Linked DNA regions of Homo sapiens: region 1 is linked to region 2. The links are contacts of gene promoters, found by promoter capture Hi-C in blood cells and fetal thymus (Javierre and others, 2016). All regions are on one chromosome and are shown on one strand. The core of a region is centred on a gene start or on the middle of the fragment in contact, and the rest is flanking DNA. Distances in the headings are between cores, read along the strand shown.

What was found. Contacts are between HindIII fragments. The CHiCAGO score rates a contact against its expected background, and 5 or more counts as called.
Region 1: a fragment that was not itself captured here is called in contact with the fragment with the promoter of ATP8B1 in region 2 in 4 of 17 cell types (M0 macrophages, endothelial precursors, M2 macrophages and 1 more); the score reaches 7.7 in M0 macrophages.

Annotation. Positions count from the first base shown.
Region 1 is chr18:57,631,284-57,636,706 of GRCh38, reverse strand. The region is part of intron 1 of ATP8B1-AS1 (ATP8B1 antisense RNA 1); the gene reads right to left. Among named protein-coding and RNA genes, the nearest start is that of ATP8B1-AS1, 3.7 kb to the right of the region's middle. RefSeq lists an enhancer at 2,989-3,837. The HindIII fragment of the contact is 5,144 bases long and covers 80-5,223 here.
Region 2 is chr18:57,799,150-57,804,804 of GRCh38, reverse strand. It overlaps ATP8B1 (ATPase phospholipid transporting 8B1), which reads left to right and starts at 1,490. Exons shown (of 28, transcript NM_001374385.1): 1 at 1,490-1,807. RefSeq lists an enhancer at 1,233-1,870. The HindIII fragment of the contact is 11,863 bases long and covers 1-5,655 here.

The DNA of each region.
Region 1 (5,423 bases), core at 1,402-3,901, 170 kb after region 2:
AGGGAGTAATCTGAGTTAATATTTTTCCTGCTTAAGTCACAAAGACTCCCAAACTGAAACTCGCCCAAGCCCACAAGCTTCTCCCTAGAGCAGCAACCCCAGCTCTTCACATTGTCCTCTTGGGTGACTGGCAGTGCCCAGAGATGGGGACTTCCTGTTCATGGCTATAGACAGAGTGGTGTGTTTTGTTAGGCCATTTATATGCAGACACATATTCTTTGCGCTCAGAAGAGTCTGGATAACATCTTAAAGTCGTGTCAAAACAGTGGAAAGCACCAATGGAATTTGAAAGAATGTTTTCAGAGTCAAAGACCAGTATGGATTTACCACTATATTGTCCAATTAATGATCAGCTAAGATGACCTCAGCAATAAGATGCATAGAAAGAAATAACTCTCATAGTTTTAAAATTATCAGGAATTTTGCTTCAAAACCTGAATCAAATAGCATGTATTTGTATTAACAAATAGTAATTTGTATTAATCAAATAGTAATGTATTAACAATATGAGAAAGGAAAATTTTAACATGGAGAGAAATTTAAACTTCCTGATCTAGGATGGTGGTTAAAATCCAAGGTGCTGGCCTGGCGCGGTGGCTCACGCCTGTAATCCCAGCACGCTGAGAGGCTGAGGTGGGTGGATCATTTGAGGTCAGGAGTTGGAGACCAGCCTGATCAACATGGTGAAACCCTGTCTCTACTAAAAGTACAAAAATATTACCCAGGCATGGTGGCGCATGCCTGTAGTCCCAGCTACGGGGAGGCTGAGGCAGGAGAATCGCTTGAACCCAGGAGGCGGAGGTTGCAGTGAGCCAAAATCACATCACTGCCCTCCAGCCTGGGGGACAGAGCAAGACTCCGTCAAAAAAAAAAAAAAAAAAAAAAAAAAAAAAAAAATCCAAGGTGCTCTGGCCAAGTTTAAGACATAGATTGTCTCACTCCAGATAACCGGTTTAGGATTTCCAGTTGGAAAGATGTCAATATTCCTTTGGCCCCTGATGCTGTGAGACTGTTGCAATTATTCTGGAAGGCTGTTGTAAGCCCTGAAATGTCTCCTTGTTTCTTTTCCATAAGAGGATTAAAGATATTGGATCTGGCTTGTGAAGTGAATGTGGGAGGGTTTTTTAGTCTAGCATTTCTCATCAGGAATCAATTCTCCCAGTTGACAAGAATCAACCTTTAGAATAGAGGTTGATTTGCCCACTGGGAGTCATCTTGCAGTTTCATTATAAAATGGTTCTGCTGAGCCAAGCTGCATAATGAATAAACCAGTCTATGGAAATGCTATAGGAGGTTTTCTATTACCATCCATTTGGGGGTTCCCACCTACCTTCAGCTTCCTTATTTAAATTTTGTGTGAACAACATAAAAACTTTGTGTTCATTGAAGAGTTTAATAAAAACAACACAAAGGACTGTTTCTAAAGGAGCTTTGAAAGTTCAAGATTCTAGAAAACTTATATCAAGATTTTATCACTGCAAACATCTTGAGTAAATAGAAACTCAAAAGAGCTCTTTTATATTCACTGTATTTGTCAAAGACTGAGCTATTTTATAGGATTTTGTGGCTTGGGGTGAAAGTATTTTTATGACCTGTTCTAACAGAAAAAAAAAAAAACCCAAACCTGATTAAGATATCATCAGCTGAGCTTCTGAGACCCCCCGAGACCCCTTGGAGCCTCAACTCCGGCCGGGCATGGTGGCTCACGCCTGTAACCCCAGCACTTTGTGGGACCAATGCAGGCGGATCACTTGAGGTCAGGAGTTCAAGACCAGCCTGTCCAACATGGTGAAACCCCATCTCTACTAAAAATACAAAAATTAGCCAGACGTGGTGGCAGGCGCCTGTAATCCCAGGTACTTGGGAGGCTGAGACAGGAGAATTGCTTGAACCTGGGAGGTGGAGGGTGCAGTGAGCTGAGATCATGCCATTGCACCCCAGCCTGGGGGACAGAGAAAGACTTCATCTCAAAAAAAAAAAAAAAAGTCTCAATTCCTATAAACTGATACATGATCGTTCTTCAAACTAACCAAGCGGACTTCATTGCTTTTAGAGGACACAATTAATTCTCTCTGAAAGTTTCCCCACCTCTATAGAGAAAATGTTTTTCTCTCTTTGACTCTGTCTTCACCTTTCTGAACAGCTATCCCAAACCCCACATCGTACCCAGATCAATTCAGTGAAAAAGCTAGCCTGGGCTAAAGTTAATTGTACCTTTAAAAAGCAATAGGGCTGGGCGCAGTGGCTCACACCTGTAATCCTAACACTTTGAGAGGTTAAGGTGGGCATATCCCTTGAGCCCAGGAGTTCGAGACCAACCTGGGCAACAAGGCAAAACCCCCAAACCCCGTCTCTACAAAAAAAAAAAAAAAAAAAAATTAGCCAGGTGTGATGGTGTGTGCCTGAAGTCCCAGCTACTTTTGAGGCTGAGGTGGGAGGATCACCCCTGTCTCAAAAGAACAAATAAAAAATAGTCGGGCGTGGTGGTTCACGCCTGTAATCCCAGCACTTTGGGAAGCCGAGGCAGGCAGATCACCTGAGGTCGAGAGTTCAAGACCAGCCTGACCAACATGGAGAAGCCCCGTCTCTACTAAAAATACAAAATAAGCTGGGCACGGTGGCGCATGCCTGTAGTCCCAGCTACTTGGGAGACTGAGGCAGGAGAATCACTTGAAGCTAGGAGGCGGAGGTTGCGGTGAGCTGAGATCGCTCCATTGCACTCCAGCCTGGGCAACAAGAGCAAAACTCCGTCTCAAAAAAATAATAATAATAAATAAATAAAATAAATAAAAATAAGAAGCAGCTCTCCCTCTCCCTCTCCCTCTCTCTCCCTCTCCCCTCTTTCCACGGTCTCCCTCTGATGCCGAGCCGAAGCTGGACTGTACTGCTGCTATCTCGGCTCACTGCAACCTCCCTGCCTGATTCTCCTGCCTCAGCCTGCCGAGTGCCTGCAATTGCAGGCGCGCGCCGCCACGCCTGACTGGTTTTCGTATTTTTTGGGTGGAGACGGGGTTTCGCTGTGTTGGCCGGGCTGGTCTCCAGCTCCTGACCGCGAGTGATCCGCCAGCCTCGGCCTCCCGAGGTGCCGGGATTGCAGACGGAGTCTCCTTCACTCAGTGCTCAATGGTGCCCAGGCTGGAGTGCAGTGGCGTGATCTCGGCTCGCTACAACCTCCACCTCCCAGCAGCCTGCCTTGGCCTCCCAAAGTGCCGAGATTGCAGCCTCTGCCCGGCCGCCACCCCGTCTGGGAAGCGAGGAGCGTCTCTGCCTGGCCGCCCATCGTCTGGGATGTGAGGAGCCCCTCTGCCTGGCTGCCCAGTCTGGAAAGTGAGGAGCGTCTCTGCCCGGCTGCCATCCCATCTAGGAAGTGAGGAGCGTCTCTGCCCGGCCGCCCATCGTCTGAGATGTGGGGAGCGCCTCTGCCCTGTCGCCCCGTCCGGGATGTGAGGAGCATCTCTGCCCGGCCGCCCCGTCTGAGAAGTGAGGAGACCCTCTGCCTGGCAACCGCCCTGTCTGAGAAGTGAGGAGCCCCTCTGCCCAGCAGCTGCCCCGTCTGAGAAGTGAGGAGCCCCTCCGCCGGGCAGCCACCCCGTCTGGGAAGTGAGGAGCCCCTCCGCCCGGCAGCCACCCCGTCTGGGAAGTGAGGAGCGTCTCCGCCCGGCAGCCACCCCGTCCAGGAGGGAGGTGGGGGGGTCAGCCCCCTGCCCGGCCAGCCACCCCATCCGGGAGGTGAGGGGCGCCTCTGCCCGGCCGCCCCTACTGGAAAGTGAGGAGCTCCTCTGCCCGGCCAGCCGCCCCGTCCGGGAGGGAGGTGGGGGGGTCAGCCCCCCGCCCGGCCAGCCGCCCCGTCCGGGAGAGAGGTGGGGGGGTCAGCCCCCTGCCCGGCCAGCCACCCCGTCCGGGAGGTGAGGGGCGCCTCTGCCCAGCCGCCCCTACTGGGAAGTGAGGAGCCCCTCTGCCCGGCCAGCCGCCCCGTCCGGGAGGGAGGTGGGGGGGTCAGCCCTCCGCCCGGCCAGCCGCCCTGTCTGGGAGGTGAGGGGCGCCTCTGCCCGGCCGCCCCTATGGGAAGTGAGGAGCCCCTCTGCCCGGCCACCACCCCGTCTGGGAGGTGTACCCAACAGCTCATTGAGAACGGGCCATGATGACAATGGCGGTTTTGTGGAATAGAAAGGGGGGAAAGGTGGGGAAAAGATTGAGAAATCGGATGGTTGCCGTGTCTGTGTAGAAAGAGGTAGACATGGGAGACTTTTCATTTTGTTCTGTACTAAGAAAAATTCTTCTGCCTTGGGATCCTGTTGATCTGTGACCTTACCCCCAACCCTGTGCTCTCCTGAAACATGTGCTGTGTCCACTCAGGGTTAAATGGATTAAGGGCGGTGCAAGATGTGCTTTGTTAAACAGACGCTTGAAGGCAGCATGCTCGTTAAGAGTCATCACCACTCCCTAATCTCAAGTACCCAGGGACACAAACACTGCGGAAGGCCGCAGGGTCCTCTGCCTAGGAAAACCAGAGACCTTTGTTCACTTGTTTATCTGCTGACCTTCCCTCCACTATTGTCCTGTGACCCTGCCAAATCCCCCTCTGCGAGAAACACCCAAGAATGATCAATCAATAAATAAATAAATAAATAAATAATAAAAAAAAAAATAAGAAGCAGTGGTAAGCCAGAGCATACACAGCCTGGAAAGCCTGTAAGGATGTTGAGGTGAACCCTGAGAGCAAAAGGAAGTCCATGGAAAGTTGCTAGATAGAGAATGAAATGACTGTGTTTATATTTGTAAGTGTTCGCCCTGGCTGGAGTGTGAAGATTAGATTGGAGAGGTGTGGGGAATCCAGAAGATGGGTGGAGAGGTTAGCCAGAGGGAGGATGTGACTTGCATTGCACTAGAGGGAAAGGATGGATGCCAAAGCACGAGAGTTTGCAGGTTTCAAGGGAGGGCTGTCAGACAGCATCCATTTAATAGCTTGAAGCAAGAGACTGGTCATTTGCTGAGATTTGGGGCTGTGGGAAGGACCTACGGTTTGAGACATTCTGAAATGCTGACCAGAAAGCCCACTGTTGGGGGAAGACAGGTTTAGTGGGAAGGGCAAATTGAGAGACGAGGTCCACCAAGCAGCTCTCAGCAGTTTGAAGGCTTCAAGTTGTTATTCATGCATATCATGGAACAAAAGAATAACAATGATTAACCATTAATGCCATTTATATCCTAATTCAGAAAGCTTACTGGATGTCAAGTACATGTTAGGCATATTTTGGTATAGCTGATCTCATATTATCCTCACAATAACCTTCCCAGTGAAGGGTTATTATCACTTTATAATTGAAACATCTGTGGCTCAGAAAGGTTAAGAAACTTGACCAGGCTCACCAAGCCAGAAAATGAGTTCTGTGATCTATGGAACGTATCTGGCTTCATTCAGA
Region 2 (5,655 bases), core at 241-2,740:
TCTCTTCTGTGGTGTCCCTTGAATTTCCTCCTTTTTACTTCCCCTGGCAACTCCTCCGTATGTCGCTGTCCCAGCCTCTCAAGTGATTCTCCCATCTTCAGTTTTATCCTCTCTAGACTATCTCCCTATTATTTTCCCTAAAACACAACCTTGATCATGCTCATGCTCGGTCCTAAATTGTCAACGGTTTGCAGGTGCTACCAAAAACAAGTCTAAATGTCTTAGATCAACCAGTGTCACCAACAGGCCCTATGTTCTCTTGCATCGGTACCTTTGTTCTGTCGTTAGCTTCAGAATATAAGTGCTGGAAGAGACCATCTGGTCCAATCTCATTTTACAAATGAGGAAACTGAGGCCTGGATAGATTGAGTGACTGACCAGCACCTAGTCAGAGATCAAGTTTGACTCATGAAAAAGAAGCCTAGAGCAGCCTCGGGGTTGGTATCAGACAAGATTCTACCAGTTGGCCACCCGTTGAATACCCTCTCTACACAACTCTGATCCTTAAAGCTGTGGATCTTTGAGTCCCATCAAGCACGGCCTCCTGTAGGAAGCCTCTGTGATGACCCAGTTGGGAGTCTGGACTCTTGGGCATAGATGTGAGCCTCTAGGTGACTGGGAATCGTGTGGGAGTCCTGGCTCCCCTACTGCATTTTAAGCAAACTCTGATCTTTGATTTTCCTCCATTCTTATCCCAACGACTCGGTCCATAGTCGGGGAGCGGCAAAAGTCTACTCAAGAAGGAGGGTAATGTCTATACTGCCAGGGAGGCACGATTCACCCGCTCAGACACCAGCCAGCAACGAGGCGCTGAGTCCAAAATTTCCACCTACACCGCGTGGTTCACGGGCCGCACCTTAACTCCTTTTGACTCCAAACCCAAAAAAACTCGATAGCGTTTGGACTCGGCAGAAAGCCTGCTGGCTGCAATCACAGGATACGTTTCTGGAAGTCTTGAGGCGCAGCCTCTTTCTTCACCCTCCACGCGGCGAACTTTGACGCGCATTCGGTGACCGGTCCCCAAACATGACTTGGCATCAAGAGGACACAGCTCCCCTTACCGAGGGAGCTCAGGTCCCGGGCGCGCCGCGGCCCCGCCAGCTTTCCAGGCTGGCTCAGTCCTCGACCCGGGGTGACGGCCAAGCCAGCCAAGGGCAGCGGGAAAGTGACGCTGGGCTGGAGAGGTGTGGTGGCGAGTGCGGCCCCCGGGGAGCTAAGAGCAGCCGCAGCAACTGGGTCTCAGGCTGGGCGAGGCAAGGGCTCGTAGGCTGGGCTCGGAAGACTGAAAGGGGTGCCCACCTGACTCCAGGACGCACGGAGGGCGTGGGGCAGGAGCTGGACCTGGGCCGCCTCGGGCCGCCCCGGGGCTTGCAGTCCAGCCCCTCTCCGCCCTAGGGAGGGAAAAAGGGAGGGGAGAAGGCCGAGCCCGCCTCCAGCCCCAGCCCCAGCCCCAGCGAGGCTCGGCGGCCGCGGCTGCTGGAGGGAAACCAGAGGCACCTCCCCGAGCGGAGAAACCAGTTTGGCCGGTCCGGCGGAGCGGAGGCAAAAGGGCGGCTGCAGAGGAAGGGTGCACGGACGCGGGGCGGGGAAAGGCGGGGGAGCCACTAGCGAGCCGCGAGAGCCGGAGGTGCCGCCGCCAACTAGACACGCTTCCCCGGGCCCCCGGCCAGCCCCCGTGCGCCATGCAGCGCTAGCGCGGCGGCCAGGGCTGGGGCCGGGCGGGCGGCGGCAGCGGCCAGGTGCGCAGCGAGCGCTCCGAGCGGCGCGCACCAGGCGGATGCCCCAGCCGGGGCCCAGCGAACGCCAGGTAAGCAGGGGTGCGGCGCCGGGGGCCCCCAGACCTTCCCAAGCCCCTTGGCCCGGCGGTGTCCTGCAGGTTCCCTGGCCGCTCCCGCCGCACTTTGGAGATCCGGGATGCGGCGGCAGCAGCTGTCAGCGCCCTCGGACTCCCGAGCCCGCACAGGTGGGATTTGGGTGGAGGTGCTGGGAGCCCCCGAGGCCTCGGGGACGGCGAGACACGGCCGGCTGGGCAGGCAGCGCTGCGGAGAGTTCCGTGGGGTTTTCACCTGCCTAGAGGAGGGAAATCTCGGGGTGTTTGGGTTCTTCGATCGGTAGCGACACACATGTCCGGGGGTTAAGCCAGGTAGGGCTTGCGGCTCCTTGGGGGATGCCGCTGGCTCCTGTGCGGTGGCTACCGCCCCTCTGGAAGACCCCGGTGACCGGGTCCTGCTGGGGCGCTCTTTGGGAGCAGATGCCAACGTGTCCGAAAAGGACTTGCGGGCCAAACGTATCTGACCGCGGCCCACCTGCCGGGAGGGATGGAGGGGGTGAGATCGCTCTCCTCCCCAGCTCCTGTGGCAGGGCCAGGTACTCCCAGACATCTTCCGTGCGCTTTATTGTGGGATGGGGAGGGGAGGTGATGGGGAAGACCGACACCACTGTTTTTCCGGTGACTGTCGGGTCGCGTCCGCCAGCCCCGCTGAGATGGCTGCAGGCATCTCCTTCCCTCAGCAGTTTGGTGCCCTGCGCTGTCACCTCGCTGTGTGCACGAGGAGGGGCAACTTGTTGGGGGGCGCGGGGAGATGTTGCAGAGAATGGCCCAGTGCTTTAACACCCCTCGCCCCCACTTCTCCAACTCCCTCCTTCTCCCCAAAGTGAAAGAAAAGTTCTGAAGTGTCTGCCCAACTTTTCCGACGGAGGCGTGTGCCTGTGGTCCCTGCCGGGGGTTGGTGGCTGGTTGCGGGGGGGGGCGGTGCTCGGAGCGCAGATCCGTGACGGTTGTACGGGGGAGACTGGATTGCAGTAAGGATGCAAATTGGGGAAGGGGGATTGACACGCAGAAGTAAGGAGGACTTGGGCCGCGCTTCTGCCCGGTGAGTACCCGCTCAACCCTACCCGACCCCCTTGGCCTGCACGCGCTGCCCTTGGGGGCTGCAAGCTCTTCCTGGGTAGCTCCAGACGCCGCCGAGTTCCTCTCCCGGAAACTGGCCTCCCTGTTGGCGTGAGAAAATATTCGCTCCCATCTTCCTGGTTGCATTGCCTTCAAAATTTTGCCACTACCCATGGGAAACTAAAAAAAGAAAAAACTAGTGGGATGTTTGGAGATCACCCGGCACACGGTAGGTTATCGATGAAGGTTAACTGCTTTCAGGAACAAAAGCTAAAAAAAACCACGCGTGATAAAGCCTCCAGGGATAGTGAATACGAGCCCGTATATATGGGGGACACGACAGCAAATGTGAAGTAGAAGCGCTAATTTTCGTCCGCTAAGGAATACTTTTGTGTTAGACCTAAGATGCCGTTCATTAATTCTGGGCCTGTTGTTGAAGGCTTTATTAAACCCTATTATAAATGCGCAGACTGTGCACAAGATGATTAATGCTTATTAGCTGATTACTTTCTGGGGGAGAAGTCACGCCTGCCTGCAGTTAACTCCTCTGAATTCTCTTAATGATTTTCATTAGGTGGTGGAGTTTTCCTTGCTATAATTTTGGGAAGGAACATTAACCACTTTGTTCATTCGTCGTTTTCCAGTGGCTGTATTTTAGTAACTTTTAGTGATTCTTTGCGTGGGTTATTAAGGGCCGAGCAAGACTCTTTTGGTTATTACTGTCCAACACAGATGCCACCTGTGTGAGGTCAGCTCTGGCTGCTTTCAAGTTTTCCTTATGGATTTTAAGGAACACACACACCTGTGTGCACATGTTATTACATCCTAGTGATAGAACTGGGAGAGGTTTTGTTTTGTTTTTTGTTCAATAGAAGTTTAAAAATAATAATGTGGTACAGCAAATGGCTTCGCAAAAAGAAGTCTTCGGTGGTAAGGCAAGTTCAGGACTGATTTTATGTTTAATCTGATTTTCAGTCTAGGGGATCTTAGTGCTAATGGAGTCACTACCAGATCTGGCTGTAGAATGTTCTTTTCCTTTCCTTCCGTCCATTCCTCTTTCCTCTTTCTTTTCCATCCTTTTGAAGCAAGGAGTAGTGGAAAATATAAAAATGCCCACAGATTTCAGTTCTTTTCCTTATTAATTGTATAACCTTAAATGAATTCTTGTTTTCTGAACCTCTGTTTGCTGCTCTGTTGAGGGGAAAAGATATTATCAATCTCTTTGGATTGTTGAAAGAATTAAATCAGAGAACATATGAATGTTCTTTATATATAGTCAGTGTTTGAATGTTGGTTTCTTACTTTCTTTATTAGATTGATATCTAAAAATACTATTATTGCAGGTATCTGGTATATTTTTAAGATTTTATTGCCTTATGAATTAAAATTCCATTTTAGTTTTTTATAAGCAACATTCACAGAATGCAGGTAATTCTAACAACTCCAGAGAGATTTTTCCTAGTTACCTTTGCTCTTTAGTGTCGGTTACTGAAAAAGAAACCGATGCACTCATGAATGCAGAGGAACTTGCTTTTTAGGTACCAGAACAAGTTGTTTTTTAAAATTTTTTATAAATAAAATACATAGAGACAGGGCCTTGTTATGTTGCCCAGGCTGATCTAAAACTCCTGGCCTCAAGCAATCCTCCTGCCTTGGCCTCCCAAAGTGCTGGGATTACAGGTGTGAGCCACTGTGCCTGGCCCCAGAACAATTTATGTCCCAAATCTCTCTAAAAAGAGATGCCTTTTAAATTGCTTAAGCACTTAATTTTAGAGTTTATTTGTACACTTGGTTCTAGTTTAGTCTCCTGGAAAGTTTTTCTTAGTGGTGTCTTTAGGTATCTTGTGAGTTTTCAGGTCTGTTGACATTCAGTTAGATTAATTGTATTCATGCCTGTAGGTTTTTTGTTTCTTATTAAGTAAAAAATTAATTTGCTGCCAGAAGAGTGTTAATACCATAAAAAGAAGACAGGTTATATTTTTCATTTTGTTAACCAAGTTACTCCTGAATCCCCATTCCCATGCCCAGCTAAAAGTAATACCTAATCTAAGATCTTTTGAGGTCCTCTATCACTGAAGACCTGGTATTGTTTAGGAAGATTCTGAAAGCATATATATGTGCATGTATGTATATAGATATGAGCATGTCTATATACGTGTGTATATGTATATATTAGTCTTGTTTCTCATTTTCTTTTTTTTTTTTTTTTTGAGACAGAGTCTTGCTCTGTCGCCCAGACTGGAGTGCAAGTGGTGTAATCTCACTGCAACCTCCTCTTCGCTGGTTCAAGCAATTCTCGTGTCTCAGCCTCCCGAGTAACTGAGATCACAGGCGTGTGCCACCATGCTCAGCTAATTTTTGTATTTTTAGTAGAGACGGGTTTCACCATGTTGGCCAGGCTAGTCTCAAACTCCTGGCCTCAAGCAATCCACCAAAGTGGCCTCCCAAAGTGCTGGGATTATAGGCGTGAGCCACCGCACCCGGCCTCATTTTCTTAAAAAACAGATAACTTTTTATCATCTGAATCTTTAAGGCCATATTGGTACTTTCTTTGATACTTATAAATGCACTGCACTTTTAAATAAATTGTTGCCCAACCCTTCCACAATGAGAAATATGTTTCATAACTGGTCCCTGCAAGCAGTCCAGAGGCAGCAGTGAAACAGAGGTTGCCAGCCTTGGAGTCTTTTGACCTGGGTTGGAACGCAGGCCTCATAGCTTCCTAGGTGCATAACCTAGGGCAAGTTACCTTGCCTCTCTAGGCT